Regions from separate parts of the Homo sapiens genome. Here regions 1, 2 and 3 are each linked to region 4. Evidence: promoter capture Hi-C in 16 types of primary human blood cells and fetal thymus (Javierre and others, 2016). All regions are on one chromosome and are shown on one strand. The core of a region is centred on a gene start or on the middle of the fragment in contact, and the rest is flanking DNA. Distances in the headings are between cores, read along the strand shown. Region 1 overlaps TBC1D8B (TBC1 domain family member 8B). Region 2 has its middle 8.8 kb from the start of RIPPLY1. Region 3 overlaps MORC4 (MORC family CW-type zinc finger 4). Region 4 holds the start of VSIG1 (V-set and immunoglobulin domain containing 1).

What was found. The method cuts DNA at HindIII sites, captures the fragments that hold promoters and counts their contacts. A CHiCAGO score of 5 or more calls a contact.
Region 1: a fragment that was not itself captured here is called in contact with the fragment with the promoter of VSIG1 in region 4 in 3 of 17 cell types (naive B cells, total CD4 T cells and naive CD4 T cells); the score reaches 8.8 in naive B cells.
Region 2: a fragment that was not itself captured here is called in contact with the fragment with the promoter of VSIG1 in region 4 in 2 of 17 cell types (naive CD4 T cells and total CD4 T cells); the score reaches 6.3 in naive CD4 T cells.
Region 3: a contact is called between a fragment that was not itself captured here and the fragment with the promoter of VSIG1 in region 4, in 1 of 17 cell types (naive CD8 T cells). The highest score is 5.7, in naive CD8 T cells.

Annotation. Positions count from the first base shown.
Region 1 is chrX:106,872,440-106,877,865 of GRCh38, forward strand. It overlaps TBC1D8B (TBC1 domain family member 8B), which reads left to right. Exons shown (of 21, transcript NM_017752.3): 21 at 1,131-3,711. The coding sequence ends at 1,526. Among named protein-coding and RNA genes, the nearest start is that of RIPPLY1, 28 kb to the right of the region's middle. The HindIII fragment of the contact is 1,911 bases long and covers 1,024-2,934 here.
Region 2 is chrX:106,891,624-106,897,459 of GRCh38, forward strand. No RefSeq gene overlaps it. Among named protein-coding and RNA genes, the nearest start is that of RIPPLY1, 8.8 kb to the right of the region's middle. RefSeq lists an enhancer at 3,032-3,556. The HindIII fragment of the contact is 1,211 bases long and covers 680-1,890 here.
Region 3 is chrX:106,987,154-106,993,122 of GRCh38, forward strand. All of the region lies in intron 3 of MORC4 (MORC family CW-type zinc finger 4), which reads right to left. Among named protein-coding and RNA genes, the nearest start is that of MORC4, 10 kb to the right of the region's middle. The HindIII fragment of the contact is 4,337 bases long and covers 1,090-5,426 here.
Region 4 is chrX:108,041,436-108,046,909 of GRCh38, forward strand. VSIG1 (V-set and immunoglobulin domain containing 1) reads left to right here and starts at 3,630. Exons shown (of 7, transcript NM_182607.5): 1 at 3,630-3,744. The coding sequence starts at 3,696. The HindIII fragment of the contact is 8,448 bases long and covers 1,133-5,474 here.

The DNA.
Region 1 (5,426 bases), core at 729-3,228, 1.2 Mb before region 4:
AACCCAGAAAAATATTTATATATATATATATATATATATATATATATATGGAATTCAGGATTAAACATCTTAAACAATTCTTAAACAAAAGCCTATGATTCTAATGTCAGTGACTTTTCATTCCATGGAAGCAGGTCAAAGTGCAGCCTAATTTATGCATAATTTTAACTATATTTCTGTCCAGAATTCTTGTTCACCCTCTGAGGACAGCTTCAAAGGGACTTTGCCTAATTAGAAGTACCACCTGGCCAGGCGCAGTGGCTCATGCCTGTAATCTGAGTGCTTTGGGAGGCCAAAGTAGGAGAGGAGCACTTGAGGCTAGGAGTTTGAGATCAGCCCAGGCAACATAGTAAGATCCTGTCTCTACAAAAAATGTGAAAATTAGCCAGGCATGGTGGCATGTGCCTATAGTCCTAGCTACTTGGGAAGCTGAGGTGTGAGGATCACTTGAGCCCAGCAGTTGGAAGCTGCAGTGAGCTATGATTGCACCATGGTACTCAAGCCTGGACAACACAGCAAGGCCTTGTCTAAGGAAAAAAAAATAGCACCTAACATTTAAGTAATGCTGGCAGGCAAACAGTCCAGGAATTAGTCTGGATAAAATGTACTATTAGGCAATAAGTGAGAGCACTTAAATGAAATTTTCTTCCATGGTTCATACTCATCTTTTTTTTTAAGATGGAGTTTCTCTCTTGTTGCCCAGGCTGGAGTGCAATGGCACGATCTCGGCTCACTGCAACCTCTGCCTCCATGGTTCAGGCGATTCTCCTGCCTCAGCCTCCCAAGTAGCTGGGATTACAGGTGCCTGCCACCACGCCCAGCTAATTTTTTGTATTTTTAGTAGAGGTTTCACCACGTTGGCCAGGCTGGTCTCGAACTCCTGACCCCAGATGATCCACCCGCCTCGGCCTCCCAAAGTGCTGGGATTACAGGCATGTGCCACCGCGCCTGGCCCATACTCACCTTTCTAGAACCAATATGTATTTTGGGGTTAATCACCAGTTCTTATAACTTCTAGGGTGAAGCTTCTATGGTACAAATCCTATATAGGAGACTATTCACTTCTAAGTTCTCTTTATATTTGCTAAGTCTAATATTCAAACGTGATATTTTCAACTTGTGTCTTCTAGTCTCAGTTTATTCAGTTTTCAAAGACCCTCTATAACTTATTTCATGAGGACCCTGAAGAAGAATCATTATATCAAGCCATTGCTGTTGTAACCAGCCTTTTACTCAGGATGGAAGAAGTTGGAAGGAAACTACATAGCCCTACATCATCAGCCAAAGGATTCTCTGGTACTGTCTGTGGTTCTGGAGGACCCAGTGAGGAAAAAACAGGGAGCCACTTGGAGAAAGATCCTTGTTCCTTTAGGGAGGAACCTCAGTGGTCATTTGCATTTGAACAGATTCTTGCATCGCTGTTGAATGAACCAGCATTGGTGAGGTTTTTTGAGAAACCCATAGATGTAAAAGCCAAGCTGGAAAATGCAAGAATTTCTCAGTTAAGGTCTAGAACCAAGATGTAAATCCCTAGGAATTGCCTATCATAGACAAGTTTACTAACATTCCTGTAGCTGTCAGTTTGATTCCTGTGAGTAGGGCTCAGGGATTTATCTTGTTACCAATGTGTCTGAAGGCCAAAATATATATCCAGAAGCACAATGCATCATTCCTTTGTTGTTGATAATGGGCTTTGTTAGCACTTTTTAAAACAAACAAACAAACAAAACAAAAAAGCAAACCACATTTGTTATCTCAAATTTTGATGATATTCTCAAATACAAATATACTTTTTTATATTTCACAATATATGCAATATCAGGGGAATATGCTAAATGTTACCACCAGAGGGCACAAGCATATCACTTTTAGTAAGGAAATTACTAGCTTGTGTTGCTATTTACATATGAATTACTGATTATTTTGAAAAGACGGTGTTATGCTTGGGTGTTAGTGAGGCTGATATGTCATGTCAATCGATAAACCCTACTTTCCAAATTATCTAAAAGATTACCATTTGGGGCCCTTGTTTTCAAGTTATCTAACTGAAATATTATTAATTTTTTTAAGTTAATCTCATTCAGTCTTCTAGTAATAAATGCTTTTTTAAGTACCTTCTACAGTCTTCCTACCTGAGGGGTTCAGAGGCTGCTGACTCACACTGCTAACTCTGTTACTGACAAAAGCAAATCAATAACTCTAAATTCTGGGCTGATATAAAGAAAAAAACAATATTGGATTTGGATTTAATCTGGGTAAAATCAGCCTTCTGAGAAGGGCTAAGAAACAGTTCAATTAACTGTATAGGTCTTTCATTAGACCGAGACATCACTAGAAATTCTGGGCACTGCTGTTTGTGGTATTTGTCTCAGAGTAGCTTATGACTGTTTTGGTTCTAGCTTTAGATTTTGGATTTTCACCAGTCATGTGTTAATTTACATTAGATAGTAAAGAATGGCTACACTAAGACTGAATTATCTTATTAGTCTGGCAAGCATATAAAGTATACTTGTATGTAATGATTGCCAAGGTAACAGAATTGCTGACATCTGTCTAAAAAGTTTTGACTATCCAATTTAGATGTGTAATTTCTATATACTTTATGCTGTTTATATTTCAGTCATTACACCAAGTCCATTTAGAGATAATGGGCTTTGTTAGCACTTTCAAAAAAAAAAAAAGCAAACCATACTTGTCCACTGTCCTGTGCTATTCCTACCAAGGACAATTTATTAATCAATTGACTTAGAAAATAGGGGGAGAAATCATTCATTGGAGCTTCTTTCTTTAGAAAAGACTTTGGTTATAAGCCTTTTGACTTTTCTAGATGTGAAACCATGAAAGGGCAGACCTCCTTCAGAGTGACTCAAGAGGTCTCCCTTTCTTGGAGGGAGTTGGTACAGTCAGCCTTTGGGAAGAATCCACTGTGAACAAAGCTTAACACATGGGGCTTCATCGCTCATAGAATATGTTATTTTCAAAGAAGTTCAAGAATTTTCAAGTTGAGCCTTTGAAAATCCCATAAATTGGTTTTAGCTAAACACTTACTAGTAGTGTCTTTAAATTATTTAATCAACCTTGTCTTTTCAAGGAAATTACCACTTAAAGAGATAGTTGGTAAATAAACATCTATGCCTTTTCTCAGAAATGATTTGCTGAACTATGTCCATATTTTACAGCTTAGATAATAGTTTATATGGAAACTATTATACATCTGCTATTGTGCAATGATTGTTAAATTATACTGAAGTAGCTCTAGAAAGACACATGTATACAAGGCACTATTGTACACACTTTGCTGAATATTTTGTCAGTTGTATTTACAAAGAAAGGTACTTTCTTAAGAGCATATATGTTATTAATATTTGATATGATTTTAAAGTCAGAATAGTACAGATTGCTGAGTATTATACTTTAGGCTAGATTAATTAAAATTGAATACTGAAAGAGATTTTTTGAGTTGCAAAAAGTTTATAAATGCAAAGCAAAAAGAAAACATTTATTTTCTGAGTCTGCAGGAGAAACAAACTAAACATTATAGTTTTATAGCTGCTATCTTGTTAACCAAACAGGTTGTTCATAATATTAAAAATCTTACGTAGTTGTGTTAAACTGAACCAGTTCATTATACCTTATGCATTAAATTAAATATGTTATAAGGTGGCTTTACTTGTCTTTATAAAAATAAATATATCTACTAAACATGAAAAATGGTTTACTTAAAAAGATTAGTATTATTTATTATGATGTCTTTTTTTCCTTTTTCTTTTCTTTTCTTTCTTTTTCTTTTTTTTTTTTTTCTTTATTGAGACAGGTCTCAATCTGTCACCCAGACAGACAGGTCTAATTCTGTCACCCAGATTGGAGTGCAGTACAGCCTTGATCTTCCAGGCTCATGCAATCCTCATGTCTCAGCCTCCCAAGTAGCTGAGACCACAGATACACACCACCATGCCTGGCTTATTTATTTATTTATTTATTTATTTATTCATTCATTCATTTATTTATTTATTGGTAGAGATGTGGTCTCCCTATGTAGCCCAGGCTGTTCTCAAATTCCTAGGCTCAAGCAATCCTACCGCCCCAGCCTCCCAAAATGTGGATTACAGGTGTGAGTCACCATGTTCAGGCTTTTTTTTTTTCTTTTTCTAAATTTCAGTTCACACAGAACTATGATGTATTTTTACTTGCACTTCACTCAGATATCACTTGAGGACTTCCCTCTTGTATCAGAATTCAATTGCAGAGAGCTAATTCACTCTAGTTAGTTTAATCAGGAAAAGATTTATTACTAGATATCAAGTGGCTTACATAATTATCAGGAGGATGGACTAAACTGAGCTTTGAAGAACAACTTCCAAAGGCACACCACTATCAGGCCACCAAGGGAATTGCTAACTCTTCAGTGTTAAGGACACTGCTACTTCCTACTGCTGTCATAAAAAGCCATCACTACTGCTGCTACCTCAGAAACCATGCTTCAACTGCTGTGACTTACACTAGCAAAATAGATGGCAGGCACCCTGCCTCTCATCACCCACAAACTGATGACTAAATTGCAATAGAACAGCCAAACATCTTCACAACTATGTTTACCAGCAGAAATGGCAGAAACATAGCCAACACCTCACTTCTGTCATTCAAATCTCACATGTGTGCATCTGATTGGCCTCTAATAAATCCAGAATCCTAGTTGCAGAGGAATCTGGGAAATTTACTTTTAGCTTTTTAGCCTCTACAGTATAGAAAGGCAAACTAAGAGGGTGGAAAGCAAATTGAACAGTGTGTTTGTTTTCTATTGTTGCATAGCTAATTCCATCACACATTTATTATCTCACCATTTCAGTGGGTCAAGACTCTGGGCTCAACTTAGGTCGATCTTCTGCTTAGAGGATCTCACAAGGCTGCAACCAAAGTGTCAGCCAGGATGGTTCTCATGTAAAGGATCATCTAAGGAATAATCCACTTCCAGGTTCACTCAGGCTTTGGCAGAATTCATTTCCTTATGGTTTCCAGTCTGGGATGCCAGCTTCTTGCTGGTAGTCACTTGGCAGCCACCCTCAGCTTCTAGAGGCTTCAGTCAGTTCCTAACAGCTGCCCTCACCTTCTGTGGACAGTTCTTTGCCACATCAGCTTTCCCCAAAATGGCCACTTACTTTATCAAGGCAGCAAGAAGTCTCTAGAGCAAATCTGCTAGAAAGACAGTGTCTTATATAATGTAACATAATTACAGCCATGACATCCCATCCCTTTCACCATGTTCTGTTGGTTAAAGGCAAATCACAGGTCCTGCGCACACTCAAGGCGAGAAGAGTAACAGTGATGCATGTGACGCTGGGGCCCTGTAGCTCCGGATCCCTAAAGGCAAGGCAAATTATTCCGGTAACTACATTCATAGGCATATAATCATCAAAAGAAGCACATTT
Region 2 (5,836 bases), core at 35-2,534, 1.2 Mb before region 4:
CCCTTCTCCTCAACCCTTCCCACCAAGAAAATTATATGTATAATGAGCAATAGTAGAATAGTAAGCAAAGTATTTATTAATAAACGCTTGATCTGAGAATTCAGCATAGGCTTGGTAACCTTGTTCTCCTCTTTCTGTTGCAGGTTCTTTGGTTTAAAAAAATTGATTGGAAAGTGCAGCTTAAGCTACTCCCTTCACTCTGAATCTGAGAAGCTAAAGTCTTCAGAACAAATTTGGCCTGACCCAATCATCCAGCAGCAAGTGGAACCGGCTATCTAGTCACAGATGTGTATGATTCTTTTCACTGTAATGACCTGAGTCACTGGTGAGCTGTGGCCCAATGATTGGCCTCAGACCAATGAGATTGGAAACTCCCATGCAGGAAGAGCAAAGGTGCCCGAAATTGCAGGTGAAAGTATTTTCTATCACCACGGACCAAGGCTGAAGCACGGAGAGAGGGTTAAAAATGTTTTGCTTCCCTAATATTAGAGAGGGAGTACACTTGCTGTTCCACATATGTCTATTGGGGAGAGATTGATTTCAATGTTGGCTCCCGCTCTCGAGTTGCCATGGTGATGAGCAAGTAAAAAACAAGTGATAGCAGAAAGAAAAATTCAGTGCCACCCAGAGATCCAACACTCCAGAAGGAAGTAACAAGCTTCCCCTCTGAGCAGAACCAAGCTTGCCAGTGTCACATGGGGGCTAGGGAGAGGGTGTTTGGGCTCTATGATTTGTTATCTCAGCAGTGCTCATTTTGTCACCAGTGTGTTAGAATGAGAAAACACGGCCACTGCTACTGACAGCCAAGCCTGCATCCTCTGCCCCCAAAGTAATATCAAATGACACTGAGAGCTTTGAGTTATTATCGTACTGCTTCTCTCAGTGCCTACAAACAGATGCTGCCATCAGGACCCATGCTGCTGACATGCATCAACACCTCCCAATTTTTGTGCTGACTAGGGACAAGGCTGCCCTTCTGAGACACTGATGGTTATGTCCAACACAAAAAGAGTGGCTAAGTCAAGCTGGCTGTGAGTACAGGACAGCAGCTAATTCTTTAGCAGTGCATGCAGCTTGGCTGAAAAGATAATGTTCACCTCTCTGCAAACCCATCATCTAACATTTAATTGTATTCTTTGCATGTTTCGGAGATGTAGCTGTCTTGGGTCACCAGTCCTGGCAACATGGCACCACTTCTTATAGGTAAAGAATCATAGTTTGATAGTTTCCTGGAGATACAACCTTGGCCTCAGTAGAAGCAGGAGATTGGTGTCAAAGTGTAGTGGTGTGGCCTTCAAAAGTAAGTTCTGTCCTGGATTACAAGTGCTTCATATTTAGTCAGAGCTTAAGGCCCTGGACGATTGCAAGGGTTGGTAGAAAGCACTGGACTCAACATCGAGATTCTGGAGGTTAGTTCTGACTCCTGCACTGACTTGCTATGCAACCTTGAGCAAGTCATTTCCCATGTCATCATCTTCAATATCCTCATTTAAAAATGTTACCGGGTACAGTGGCTCATGCCTGTAATCCAATTTGGAAGGCTGAAGTAGAAGGATTGCTTGAGCCCAGGAGTTCAAGACCAGCTTGGACAACAAAATGAGACCACTGTCTCTATTTAAAAAAAAAAAAAAACAGCAGAGCATGATGGCACACGCCTGCAGTCCTAGTTACTCAGGAGGCTGAGGTGGAAGTATTGTTTGAACCCACGAGTTTGAGGCTGCAGTGAGCTATGATTGAGCCACTACTCTCCAGCCTGGGTGACAGTGAGGCCCCGTATCTAAAACAAAATGAAAAAAAATGAGAGTACTGGGAGTATTAAGAGATTCAAATGAGATCACGGAGGTAAAGTTGCTTTGAAACACAGAAAGAGCGTAGCACCTGTGTAAAGCAAGCTTATTAACATTCCCAGAATATTGAAGGACAAAGATGTGCAGTCCAAGATTCTTGAAAGTGTGCATGGAGAAAAGCAAGTATCTTAGCCCATGTCTTTCCCATAAGCTTCAGGGGAGTGTGTTGACAGTAATTGGGGCACCAGGGTTTAGTAGAGCTAGATAGATAGTGTATTAGTCTGTTCTCATGCTGCTAATAGAGACATACCCAAGACTGGGTAATTTATAGGAAAGAGGTTTAATTGACTCACAGTTCCCCAGGGATGGGGAGGCCTCAGGAAACTTAGGATCATGATGGAAGGAGAAGCAAACAAGTCTTTGTTCACATGGCAGCAGCAAGGATAACTGCCAAGCAAATTGGGGAAAAGCCCCTAATAAAACCATTAGCTCTTCTGAGAACTCACTATCATGAGAACAGCAGCATGAGGTAACCGCCCCCATGATTCAGTTACCTCCCACCAGGTCCCTCCCGATGACATGTGGGGATTATGGGAACCACAATTCAACTTGAGATTGGGGGCAGGGGGGACACAGCCAAACCATATCAGATGGGAAAGGCAAGGGAAGTCAAAGTGGTGACGACTATTATGATAGCATGTGTCAAAAAAGAACAATTATTAGATGTGTATACATTCATATATACACCTATGCACAATGTATAGTAGTGTGTGTACATGTATATATAAATATATGTGCATGTCTCTATCACATCTGTAATGTGCCAAGTACTCTGCCAGCCCCTTACATATGCTGTCTCATTTAATTCTTACATTAACCCTGTTAAAATGGTATTATTATCATTCCTATTTTATACATGAAGAAACTAAGGCTTAGAGACATTTTCTCATGGTCACTTAGCTAACAAGGAGTCGAGCCAGTATTTGAACCCAGGTTTGGTTTAAATCCAGAGTCTGTCCCTATAACCACCAGGTACAAAACAGTGCTGGCCATAGAATCCTCTGGATGGATGAGCCCTGCTCATCCTGGGCTTTGTGCTGTAGGTTTAGAGCTCAGCCACTAGAGGGGGCTGCCTGTCTTGCTGTTAGCGAAAACGAATTGAATCGCTAGGGACTTGGAGGCCGCTGTTCTCTCCCTTGGATGGAAGACTTCTAGAAAAACCCAGAGCCTGACTCCAGCTGGTTCCTGGTCTCTCCCTCAACCTCTTTTAATTCACACTTGGTCCCAGGCCTCAAGGTGTCCCCAGTGATGGGGATAGCAATGCCTTTTTGTGACAGTTTACACACTTCTTTCCCCGTAGGCTGCAGGAGGCCAGGGTGAGCTGCCTGCCCTAAGGGACTTTCAGGGCTTCTCTGGGGGAATAAGGAGGAGGGAAGGAGGAGCCTAGTAGTTAAGAGCCAGGACTCTGTAGTCGCACTGTCCTGTTCTACCCCAGCTTCCCACTCATTGCCTGTGCTACTAACAGGTCACTTCACTTCTCTGAGTCCCAGTTTCTTATCTGTAAACATTAGGATGCCCCACCACCACCACCACCCAGTTCAGGATAAAGTGTGTGTGGTGCCAAGCACAGTGCCTGGGATAGAACGGGAGAGCTCAGCAATTGGTAGTTCCTCCCACTTTTCAGCCAGAGTGAGACATGCCCAGCCAGGGCCCATTCCACTCTGAGGCAGCACAGCACCGAGGGGCAGGAACAGAATTCCCTCATCCCCCTCTCACCCCTGGTAGCCCTGTGCCCACAGCCCAGGTGCTGTGAGAGCCTGCCACTGCCGGGCAGGAGGTCCCCAAACATTCCTCCCTCAGTGACACCTTTCAGAGGCCCTCAGTGTTTCCTGGCCCCTGGCCCAGAGTTCTTCATATCCTCTGACTCACTTCCCTGCAGCCAGAACTTAAATCTTTTCTCCCTTGCCCTCCCACAGATTTAATCCTTCAGCAAACCCTGTTGATTCCACCTCCTGAAAGCACAGGGCTCTGGTGTCAGGCAGCCCTGAACTCTAGTTCTGCCACTTACCATTAATGTAACCTGGAGCAATTGCTGTCATCTCTCAAATCTTGGATCGGTCATTTATTAATTACGTGACCTTAAGATTCCTTAACCTCTCTGAACCTCAGTTTCCTCATCCATAAAACAAGGAAAATAATAGTGCTTGAGTTTTAGGGTTGCCATAAGGATTCAATGAGGTAAAATGTGTAAAAAGCCTGACGCTTAGAAGGTGCCACAATTTACCAACTGTGTGATTTGGGGCAAGTTTTAAAAACCACTCTAAGCCTCAGTTTTCCCAACTGTACCTATCCTTCAAAGTTGTTGTATTAAAGGAGTTAATCCATGTAAGGTTCATAACAAGAATTCCAGAATTATCAGCTGTTCTAACTCTTATCCTCCTAGGTATCCTATTGTCTAGTCTTCTCTGGACAGGGAAAGCCCCACTCCCACACCTGTGGGTGTCACCACCTCCTACTCCCCCGCCCCCCTGCCACCCCGCACTGTGACTTTATGGCTCTCTAGTGGACAGACAGTTCATCTCCTCTCTTCTCCAGTCTCCTGTTGTAAACTGGTGACCTGACTTCACTGTTTTACTTGTCATGGCCTGGTGTTGGTTCCTGTATTTTTTACTTAATCACTGCTGACAAGGCTTGTAGCATCTTCCATGCAGGCACACAAACCCAGGCACAGAAACCCAGCTAACTCTTAGTTTTCTCATTAATAAGTGGGGATAATAATAAGACCTATCTCTAGGACTGTTGTGATTACAAGTACCACACAAGATGATGGGTGTAACGTCAGTAGCAAGTGCTGTGGCACCCGCTGTCAGAGCAGTCATTCCTTGTTGGCTTTCTGTATCTGGGTTTCTGTGTTTCCATGGAGGTTGTCACGAGCCTTGCCAGCCAGGGGATAAACCAAAAACACAGGAACCAACACCATGTTCCTGATAGGCCAAAACAGTGGATTCAGGTCTGCTAACAACCTTATTTGGGATGGGGATTGGCCACCATTTGGCAAAAGGGAAGTGGGGAGGAAAGGAGACAATGTATCTACCCACTAGATGGGTCACACAGGCACAGTTTTGAGGAGGGGGTGAGAGGTGAGGGTTTGTAACACCCACTGGGTAGGCAGAGGGCTTTCCGTGCTGAGGCAAAGGAGAATAGGCGACTATTTTAATGAGCATGTGCTGTGTGGGGAAGAGGTGTGACACAATAAAGAACTACAGTCAGGAGTTCAAGACCTGCCTGGCCAACATAATGAAACCCCATCTCTACTAAAAATACAAAAATTAACTGGGCGTCGTGGTGCACACCTGTAATTCCAGCTGTTCGGGAGGCTAAGGCAGGAGAATTGCTTGAGCCTGGGAGGCGGAGGTTGCAGTGAGCCAAGTGCCACTGCACTCCAGTCTGGGCAACAGAGTGAGACCCTGTCTCAAAAAACAAACAAACAAAAAACTATAGAGGTTGTAGTGAAAGGGTTAAGAGCAGAGAGCTGACCTTGACACTTGAGGGGAGTGGGCCTATGATTTGAGCCAGCATGCAGCAGAAAAGGCATTTGAACCCATGTTCATCTGCTTCCAAAGCCCATGCTCCTAATCATTACAACGTTAAGGGCTGGCACATAGTAAGTGCTCAATAAGTATTGTTTAATGAAGGCATTCATAGTGCTGCCTCTTTCTGAAAAGTTTTCTCCCTCCATTACTACTCATGCCCATCCTTCAAAGCCCAGCTCAAATGCAGCCTCACCCCAACAGATGTGTTCTCTCACTGCTGCAACAAGGTGGGAGAAACAGGAGGAAATCAGTGCTAGGATGGGGAAGTGCTGGGACACTAGGATGGGCCAGCCAAATGGAGCTGGAGGAAGGACTCTTGAGTTTTGCACAGAGATTTTTCTCCTGAGTTTGTGCACTGGAGTTGAAGTTGGCACAAGGATTGGAAACGCCCATAACAAAGTAACTCATACTGAGCTCTGATTAGTCAGAACAGTGAATTCCAATGACTTAGCAACC
Region 3 (5,969 bases), core at 2,008-4,507, 1.1 Mb before region 4:
TAGCAGACCAGGGTGACTATAATTAGCAATAATACATCACATATTTCAAAGTAGCTAGAAAAGAGGAGTTCCAATGTTACCAACATATAAATTATCAAGGTGATGGAAACCCCAAACACCCTCACTTGATCATTACACATTGTATGCATGTATAAAGTACTCACATGTACCCCATAAATATGTAAAATATTAGGTATCAATAAAAGAAAAAATCATACTAAAAAGGATTGTTTCTCTCCAGATTGACTAATTTTACAATGTTGTGCACTATCATTCATTCAATAAATATTTAAACTAAGCACCTACAATGTGCCAAGCATTGGGCTAAGCACTAGAGACCATTTTTAATAAGAGACATGATTCTTGCCTTCAGAGTTTATAGTCTAAGGAAGGACTTCATATATTACAGATTAGGTGCTTCTCAACATCAATAAAATAGATACTCTGGTCAGACCATGACTGAGCAGGCTGATCTTTAACAATTTTACTCTTTTGAGCATGGAGAGCGGAGGTATCTGATTTCTACTTCCTGAAGATTGCGGTTTTGTGTTTACTCACTAAGAAAGGGAACCACCTTTTAATTTTCTGTTTCAAAGCATTATACAATAATACCATATGTCCTCCTAGAGTAGATACTTTATAGGAGCTGTGTGTATCCTACAAATAAATCTAGTGACAGAAAAAGGTAATTTCCATGGCAGCAGTCCTTTGGGAAAAAAAAAAAGAAAAAGAACTTCAGTTTGTGTTGCCTATGGGCCTTAGTATTCCAGGATACAGACTTATAATAGTAAGATTCAGGCATTCCCATTTTTCTTGTGGAAGAATTGGCTTTTAAAAAAAATGGGTTTGTTATGAGGATTAAATTATATACTGTATGCAAAATACATTAAGTATAAAGTAGTATTCAAACATTAATTTTAAACTAACTCTAGAAGTCATTCTGATAGTTGTCATGTGCTATCCCCTACTCCTACTTCAGACCTAAGGTCACATCTAAAGCTCAGGGCTCTTCATAAATAGTAATCTTACACATCACTTCAAATGAATTTGTATCGTTAACCGGACTTCAACTTTCTCTTATACCACAAAAGCTTCAATTAGGTGATCAAGGGAAAGTGGTGAAAATAGGGAGATTACAACTCCCTTAATTTTTTAGCCTCTTCCACCATCTATCACCTCTTTTCCCCTTTGAAAGTATAAACCCTCACTGTGTTAATTTGAGGAGACCAAATTATGATACAAGGTTGAGAAGATAAGTAGTAGTGCCAGGCCAGAACCAGAATGGAAAAGGATAAGAATAACGAGAAGAGAGGAGCTATAAACTCTGGATTTTTGTTGTTGTTACTGTGTTTCACTTAACTCTTCCCGTGTGCTCTTTTATTCCACCTAAGTTCTCATGTTCGGCATTCTATTTAAATGCAAACTGGCAGAATCAATGTCAGGTACCAATCAAATAACTACCTAACACAAAAGCCCTCACCACACATAATAATAGAATTGTAATAATGAATTTGATAGTTTGCTATAGCTCAGTAATAATTTTCCACAGAGATAACTTGGTTTAGGTGGTTTCTATTTGCTAAGTCAGTCCTGCTCTATCCTCTCGTGTGAGAGACAACACTGTTTACACATCAAGGTGGCTTGGATACCAGCACTTTTAGTGGAATCCAAAAATACAGCAGCTTGCTCTGGAGTATCTTAAAATGTCAAGAATCCAGAATCCAGAGAGGTAAATTTAAATTGGGACTCTGCCATGACACGTGTTTACCTATGTAACAAACCTTCACGTGTACCTCCAAACCAAAAATAAAAGTTAAGAAAAATAATAAATAAGTAAAGACTCTGACCAATGAAACAAACCTTGGCAAAATCCATGGGTGCACAAAGGCAGGCACTGCTATTTCCTAGGTATACTTGTGATTTAATATGTAATATAAAAGAATGAAAGAGTGCTAAGCAGACTGTTATTCTCCAGCTATTGTTTTAGAAGAATACACCTGCTAGGAAGTGCACTTCTGAGCACAGGTAGCAAATACCTTCTGTGGTTCTGTGGCTGTTTTTAGTCTTTGAACTTTGAAAGAGGTTTTCCACCTTGCTGAAAAAGGCAGCTGAATATACAGACTAACTGATCCACACACTAGCCCCAGAAGCTAAAGATAATTAGTTGTGGACCTTAAAGGAATTTAATAATAGGTTTTTCCTTTTTAATTTGATTTTCATGAAAGTCTATGTTTATGGAAGAAACTGTTGCTACAGTTACACAACTATTTTATCAGCCTGAAAATAGAGTTGCATAAAGAGTTGGAAAGTGTGGACAGTGTAACAACAAATGTTAGAGGTCAAATAGAACTTCTGTAGGCTTAATAAATTTGTATAATTACTTCTATTATTTTTTCCAAATACAAAAGTAATATGCCTTCAAGTAGAAAACAGCACCAGGCACGGTGGCTCATGCCTGTAATCCCAGCACTTTGGGAGGCCGAGGCAGGCGGATCACTTCAGTTAGGGAGTTCAAGACCAGCTGACCAACATGGTGAAACCCCGTCTCTACTAAAAATACAAAATTAGCCAGGCATGGTGGCGCATGCCTGTAATCCCAGCTACTCGGGAGGCTGAGGTAGGAGAATCACTTGAATCCGGGAGGCGGAGGTTGCAGTGAGCCAAGATCACACCATTGCACTCCAGCCTGGGCAACAAGAGTGAAACTCCATCCAAAAAAAAAAAAAAAACCCAGAAAACATAGAATCCTTCGGGCCAGGCGTGGTGGCTCATGCCTGTAATCCCAGCATTTTGGGAGCCCGAGGCAGGTGAATCACAAGGTCAAGGGATGGAGACCATCCTGGCTGCCAACATGGTAAAACCCCGTCTCTACTAAAACTACAAAAATTAGCTGGGTATGGTGGCGCACACCTGTAGTCCCAGCTACTCGGGAGGCTGAGGCAGGAAAATTGCTTGAACCCAGGAGGCGGAGGTTGCAGTGAGCCGAGATCGCGCCACTGCACTCCAGCCTGGCGACAGAGCAAAACTCCATCTAATAAAAAAAAAAATAGAATCCTTTGCTGGAAGTTAGGATTGGACTAAAAAATCTCTTTTATTTTTATTTATTTATTTATTTATTTTTGAGACAAGGTCTCCCTCTGTTGCCCAAGCTGGATTACAATGGCACAATCTCAGCTCACTGCAACCTCCGCTTCCTGGGTTCAAGCAATCCTCCCACTTCAGCCTCCCGAGTAGCAGGGACTACAGGTGCATGCCAAAATGTTCAGCTAATTTTTGTATTTTTTTGTAAGGATGGGGTCCCCCTGTGTTGCCCAGGCAGGCATCAAACTCCTGGACTCAGGCAATCTGCCTGCCTTGGCCTTTGGAAGTGCTAGAATTATAGGCATGAGCCACCATGCTTGGCCTTAAATGATCTCTTTTAAATAAATGGTATCTTCACCGGGCACGGTGGCTCATGCCTGTAATCTCAGCACTTTGGGAGGCCAAGGCGGGCTGATCACTTCGGGTCAGGAGTTCAAGACCAGCCTGGCCAACATGGTGAAACCCCGTCTCTACTAAAAATACAAAAATTAGCTGGGCGTGATTGTACCTGCCTGTAATCCCAGCTACTTGGGAGGCTGAGGCAGGAGAGTTGCGTGAACCCAGGAGGGGCAGGTTGCAATGAGCTGAGATCATGCCATTGCACTCCAGCCTGAGGGACAAGAGTGAAACTCCATCTCAAAAAAATTTTTTTTTAATTAAAAAAAAAGGTATCTTCTAGCTGATTCAAGTTTGTTTCAAGATACAATCACAAATAAAATTCAGTACATATATTACATTAAGGACTCATTAAAATAATTTTCTAAAATTATTTTTTAAATAGGAGGAACAATTGCCCAGCTCAAATCAGTGGTAAACATATTTGGTATGATAGGGAAAATTCTATAGCTAAGAAAGTTTCTACCTATTTTGCTCCTTGGGGAGGGAATAAAAAATTTGAATGGGTGATACTCATCCTTCATATTTCAATTTGAATGTCATTTCTTCAGGGGAGCCTTTTTTAATTCCCTAGACTAGATTAGATCCCTGTTATACGTTCTCAAAGAAACTGTGCTCTACCTTCATAGCACTTACCACTGGGTGGAATAGCCTATTTAGTTATATTACTAGTCAATTTTGTTCTTTCTCATTAAGCTGTCAGCCAAGAATCATGTCTATCTGGTTCACCACTTTATCTCCAGTGCCTTGCACACAGGTGCTCAATAAAAATTTGTTGAATGAATAAATGAATGAATCTGGAACAAAAATTGTGGCAATTATTTTGAAACCATTCTTCTCCTCCCTTCTACCTTATAACTCTAACCAAGTTTCACAGATGTAGTCCCACAGACAAAACGGAAGATCAGATGTGCTGGGCCCACTACTCAACACCCACGTCAATGGGATAAGGTATGATGGGAAGGAGTCATTAAGAAGATAAGCAATTTTGGATGGGTGCGGTGGTTCACACCTGTGATCCCAGCACTTTGGGAGGCTGAGGTGGGCAGATCACTTGAGGTCAGGAGTTCGAGACCAGCCTGGACAACATGGCAAAACCCTGTCTCTACTAAAAATACAAAAAAATTAGCCGGGCATGGTGGCACACCCCTATAATCCCAGCTACTCGGGAGGCTGAGGTACGAGAATCATTTGAAACCAGGAGGCTGAGGTTGCAGTGAGCTGAGATCATGCCACTGCACTCCAGCCTGGGTGATGGAGTGAGACTCTGTCTCAAAAAATAAGAAGACAAGTAATTTTACGGGGAAAACAACCAACTAGTACATACAGAATTGAACATATAAATGCTTTGGTTCCATCCCATCTAAAATTGTATTTTTCTTAATATATAATATTAACTTCAGGATATAAAACTGATGTTATAAGTTAAAGGATTGGGCCAACTTTCTACCTTCACTAACATACTGGTCACAATTCTTGTTTCACTTTTAGAGGTTTTCCTCAAATAGTCTTCTAATTAGGAGGGTCTGAGACACAAGGTATACAGACTGCTGAGTGGTAAAACGCAACCATTTACTTTGCCCAAATTTCATTTTTGTTTCTTTGATGAATCAAAGGGATTTCCCTACAAACAGAGTAATTGATTTAGAATACCTACAAGGGTAACTACAACCACATGAATTTGTTTTCCATTTTTATAGTTTGGAGCCCTTTCCCTCCTCCACAGCATTCCACCATTGTTACTCGTGCTTCACACACTCTAGTTCAGGAAGCCACAGGGAGAGTAATCAACCTCATCTGCTAAAAGGAAGAGAGAAGGAAGGAGTTGAAGGAATACTCATATTCCACTGAGTGATATGCGGAGATGATATAGTATAAATTTACGTTCTCAACTACAAATGTTTTAAAGTGATTAAATGAACTGACAGTGGCAATAGAAATCTAGCACAAGCTTTAACAGTTAGAAAGGAGAATTTCCTAAGTTTGTGATTCTACTGCAAAACCTTTAAAGAATATATGTCTGAATGCCTTCTATTTACCTTGCATGGGGTTTGATTATACCCAGGTACCTTCGTGGTTCTAATCAATAAATCACCCCAACTCCAATACTTCTGATTTAAGAGTGAGTTTAGGTTAATATAAATTGGAGGTCTCGGACCAGTGAAGGCCTCTGGGTCTTTATATTTGCTGTTCTCTTTGTGTGAATTGTCATCCCTTGCTCCCTGCCCCTTTATTTAGCTGGTTAAACTGTACTCACCCTTAGATCTCAGCTTAAATATCATTTTGTCTAGGATACTTTTCCTAACCTCTGGGATCAGATTGGGCTCCCCTGATGACTTGTCTCAAACATTCTGTACCTTCTTATTATGCTTATAGCTTTTTATTACTTATTTAATTTGTCTGAGTTGCCAGCTAGGCTGAAAGCTCTGTGAGGGAAGGAACAGTATTTGTTTCATAACCAGTGCCCTGGCACATAAGAGATGCTTAATAAA
Region 4 (5,474 bases), core at 2,380-4,879:
ATAGATGCAGTTGGACCCAGTGACAGAAAGAGAGAATAAAAATACCTTTTTTAAGGGAGAAAAGCAAATTATAGAACAAAATGTACAGTATTATCATCTTTATGTTTTAAAAAACCTCGTGTGTGTGTGTGTGTGTGTGTGTGTGTGTGTTTGTGCATGTGTACATGCATAGAAAAAGGTCTGAGAAAAATGCTAAACTCCTGTTCCATGTGAGCCTGGGAAAGGGATTACATGTGTGAGTGAATGAATGGGACTTTTTTTCCTCTGTATCCTTGTTTGTCCTTTGAAAACCATTTACTATCAAAATGTATTACTTTTGTAATTTTTAAGTTAAAAATGAGGGATAAATCAGATATCACATATTTCTGAAAGTTCCCAAGGAAGAATACTGGGGGCAGTAGCATATTTGTTACATTACAATCACACCGTGCCATTGTGTGGTGTGATAGGAACAGCTTCTAATGCGTGCTATGGTGACCTTGGGAAAAGCACAGCACTTTTGAGCCTCAGTTTTCTTATATAGAAAATGTAGGTATACCTGATTTATTTGTTGTATTGGAAAGCTACAAAGATAAAATGGAAAATTAGTTTAAAAATTATAAAGCTCTATAAAACTGCAAAGGATATTTAATATTTCGTGTCCTAGTTAATGACCCACTTTTTAAGCAATAGTTAATAACATCAAAATCCAGGTCCAAGCAGAGAGTTTAAATTCTCTTTTAGAGTTTGTTATAACAGAATTCTTCCTGTCCTGGTTAGGTCTTACATAGCAGCAGTATAGATATTTTACTTAAATATTCCAGAGTGTTTTGTGTTTGCACAACAGATTTTGGTGCAGATGGGTTTGGGCAATATCCTTAAATCATACCCTCTGCTGCACTCATCTTAGGGCCAACCAACTCAGACATACTGAATTAATTAGCAAGCTCTTACTTAGCACCTACTTTGTGCCTAGTAATCCCCTGTGGGTAGGTAACCAGACACCCAGGTTTGTCTGGCACTGTTACTGTTTATGCTGTCTTTCCCAGGTAATTGCTAATAGTGCCCCTTTCACTTTCAAAAGTGTCCTAGTTTTAATGATCAATGGTCACACTACTATAATCACTTATGGGGCATGGAAGGAAACACAGGAAGCTTCTGGCTTACAAATGCCAGACTTATAAATTTCGCTCCCCATCCCACGTCCTCACCACTGGAACTACCGGTATTACTTCCAGGGTGGGGGGCATTGTGAAAACTATGGGTCTTTTAGAGACTTGGTGGACTTAGAAGTCAAGGCAGAACCAAGCCTGAGAAAAGGTGGTATGGATCTCCAGAGACCCACCCTACAAGTTGTCCTCCTTTGCAAAATCTTCTCCCTCAAACTATTTCTCTTTATTGCATTGCCTAATTCTCCTGGTCAGAGATTTATGTGAGGAAAGTAAGCACTGTATTTTTAATAGCACAAACAGGTTGGAGAATGTTCAATGAAACGTTTTTTTTTCCCTTCCTAACATGGAGCTGCTGTCTGCTTATACAGGGGAAAGGGAGGGTTTCTGGGAGGAATAGAGGTGAAAAGGAAAAAGTAATTTTGGAGCATGAGATATTCTGGGGAATGAGACTCTCCCTTAGGGCAAACTAGGGACCCAGGAGCCAGGGGGCCGTGAAGGTGGGAGGCAGAAGAGAAGGTGGATGTCAGAGACATGCAATAGTTATTTGGGGGAAAATGTTGATTTGTGCACAAGTCATATCTTGGGAAATGAAAGGAACGTTCTTTCTCTGTCACCTGCTGTTCCTCCTCACCCTCCACTGCCTTATACGGCCCAGTACGCAGAATTCAAGCCAGTGCTAGATTATGTGCTACATGCCTGACAGTGAGACTCATATTATAACATTGCTTCTGCAGGAGTTCTTGCGTGCAGTCAACGAGTTTACCATTACATCTTGGGACACGCTCATTTTAAAGTTGGGAACTGCCTGTATAAGACATGGTCCCTACCCTGGAGGGATTCACAGTGACTAGATTTAAGGTAGACCAGTTAATAAATGCGAAACTACTGGAGAATAATCAATGGTCAGCTGTAGGATATTGGCTTTAAGTAAAATGGAAATTTATGCTAGGGTGGTATGTCGGTTCATTGAAATTCTCACATAGGACAGTATGACTGATCTATGCTAAGAATATACTTGGCTAGTAAGAGGAGGAAGAAGAAAACTCTAGTGATGGAAATCACCTGGAGCCAACGTTTGGCATCAGACATGAGCATGGACAGGATAGGCTGCAAGGAGGAATCAGGCATGATGGAAGCAAAATGGCTTTCTAAGAAGCAGTGGGAGATTGGAATGGCTAAAGTAAGATGGGGTCAAACATTTCCTGTAAATTAAAGACAGGAACATAAAACATATCACTTGAAATTTGTACACATTTCATGTGACTGAACACTTTGAGGCAATAAATCTTGACATACTTTTTCAGGGGCATGAGTTAATGTGGCTAAAGTTCAGATGAGGTGAGGATCAGATATTGGAAGAATGGGAATCCATATTAAGGACTTTGGATTTGATGAAAGAGTCCATTTATGGTGTTACTGGAAATATTTCACTAGGGCTGGAACATTGGCCTGCGGCTGGCACACAGGATGAAGGTGGAATAAGTCAGGGAGACCACTTAGGAAGCTGCTATGATAGGCCAAAGTGGGAAGCTGAGTACCTGGACCAAGATGGAAGCAGCAGATTGGAGAAAGAACACATCTGAAAGTCGCTGTGGAGATGGAAATGATAGGACTTAGAAATCACATGGGAAGAGCCAGAGAAAGTCCTTAGGTTTCTCCGGGTAACTTAAGCATAATAGGAACACTATTAGAAGTTCATGTTCCCATGAAAGTTCCTTACCTGTGGAGCCTCCCATGCCCTCCTGGTGAACCTCCATTTCTAAGGAAACCCTATAGCATTTACTGAGTATCTTAATTCTCCAAAAAATCAGACTTCTCCAAAGAAAGTCTTTAAGCATGTATTCACTAACTTGATTTTGCAAAATTACGTTAGCAAATACGTGCTATAAGGTTTCTAACCCGACAGACAAAAGCATGTAAATCATTTTACTGCTAGTTTTGGTGGAGGGTAGTGACAACTGCCAGTGTTTCAAAAAAGAGTAACATATCCAGAGTTTGTTCACACAGAAATGAATGCTTTTTAGCTTCATAACCCCTGTGCCCTTCCCGTGAGCCCCATCTCCCCAGGAAACGATATAGTACCAATTTACTAACTTAATTTGTAAAAGGAGGTTAGTGAATCAATTCTGTAAGACTCATGGAAATATTTGAAATTAATTAGCCTTGTCAGCTTTTATTTGCATAGGCTCTCTTCCAACCATATCCCCCAGCCCAAGTACAACGTTTTAGTAAGATTGATTTTAAACAATGAGACTTAGAGAATCTGTGTACAAGGAGCTTGAATAATTTAAATGCGTGGGTTTATTATTAACACAGTAGCAAATATATCAAGGAAACACGCCCCATGAAAAGTGTTTCAAAGAAACACAAATCTGTACTGAAAAAAGTCTATACGCAATAAGTAAGCCCAAAGAGGCATGTTTGCTTGGCGATGCCCAGCAGATAAGCCAGGCAAACCTCGGTGTGATCGAAGAAGCCAATTTGAGACTCAGCCTAGTCCAGGCAAGCTACTGGCACCTGCTGCTCTCAACTAACCTCCACACAATGGTGTTCGCATTTTGGAAGGTCTTTCTGATCCTAAGCTGCCTTGCAGGTAAGGAAAGGATCTCCAAACCACCAAATATAATTGGAAACAGAGTTTCCTTTTAAATAAAAATTCCACATTTTTACATAGAATTTTCATCTCCTGTACTTCAAATGAATTGTGATTAGTATGATGAGTTAATTTTCAGAACTCTTGCTTAGCAAACATATGCCATGCTGATATATTAGGGGTGTAAGCCCATAATATTATTGTTTTATGGAGCTTCTGAATGAAAATTTTCTCAGAAAAAAATATAGTTTATTACTTTACTTACTTTGAAAAGTGAAAAAAATGAATTTACTCAGAAACCAAACTTTGTGCTAGGGATAATTTTGTCTCTGTTTTACTTACTTTAGTGTTTCCTTTAAGCTCAGTGATTGACTTGCTCTAGCAGGCAGAGCCTGGGTTGGAGGGCCTGCCCTGGCTTACATATGGGAAGAACAGAAATTTACTGAGTACTTTACTGTCTAATATTTCTTAAGGAGTTGTGGTTTTCCAATCCTAAGACTGTATTTTGCAAAATATGTGAGTGATTTATGGTGCACAACATGGGTGATTTTAGGTATCTGAACAGAAGAAAATCAATTTTGGAATCAAAATACTGATGTTAGTTAGATCCAGGAGAGATCATTAATTCCAAAAATCCCTTGGGTAGTTTTCAAATATCAGATACATTTTGCATCTGTTCTTATAAGTTAGGTCCATAGTAAATACAATAATATTGTTTATCCAAAAACAGGATTTTCAAGCCATTAGTAATATTAGGCAGTGGTTAGAATGAGGTTTACTAGGCGTATTAATGACATAAGAAAATACCCACGATAAAATATTAAGTGAAAAAGCAGGATGCACACATATGCCTAGAATAAATTACTAGAAGGTTATATACCGAAGTGCTCATGGTGGTTGCCTCTGGGTGATGGGATTATAGATGATTTTAATTTTATTTCCCAGCTTTTCATACTTCCTGGGTTTTCTACGAAGAACATTATGCTATTTTTATAATTAGAAAAAAGTGTTACTTTTCAAAGTGATCTCATGTTTAGAAATAGTTCTTTAAATGTTCATTACTAAATGTTTAAGCATAGATGTTTTATGGAGTTAAACATCACCAGAAGGCAATACTCCATTTGTCCAGTGACCTAACTAGGCCCTAGAGCTGGAAACACATGTTCCTATTTTCCCTTCTCCCCAGGCATATTCATTTAAATGTAACTTTAGATATGGAAGTTTTGTCTCTTCTTAAAGGGTTTCCAGTCATTAGCCAGTTGGGTCGACCCCTGGGCCTTCTGCATCAGCCCTCTAAGATCATACCTGTTTCCCTATGTGAAGCCTTGCCCTGGCCCATACTAGGCACAGGGTTTGGAACGGTTGTTAAGAACAGTTTTTTTTTTTTTTAACTGTACCTAACATACAAGTAATTTTTACTGATTATAAATGTAATGCATGGTCATTGTAGAAAGGTTGGAAATATGGAAATTTAAAATAAAATAAAAATCATCTGCAATTTTACCACTCAGATTTGGGTGAATTATTATTCTTTTATTTGCAGGTGTATATATTACATTTTAAAAATTGGGTTTATTCCTTGTATACTTTTTTATTGTTTAAAAAAATTGTTTAGCATCATGTCAGGATTTTATTTTATTGTGACTTTTAGAACAAGACCAATAAATACTTCAGAGTGTGTTTCCTAAGTTACTATATAACTGATTTTGTTGGTATATAGTGTACACTAT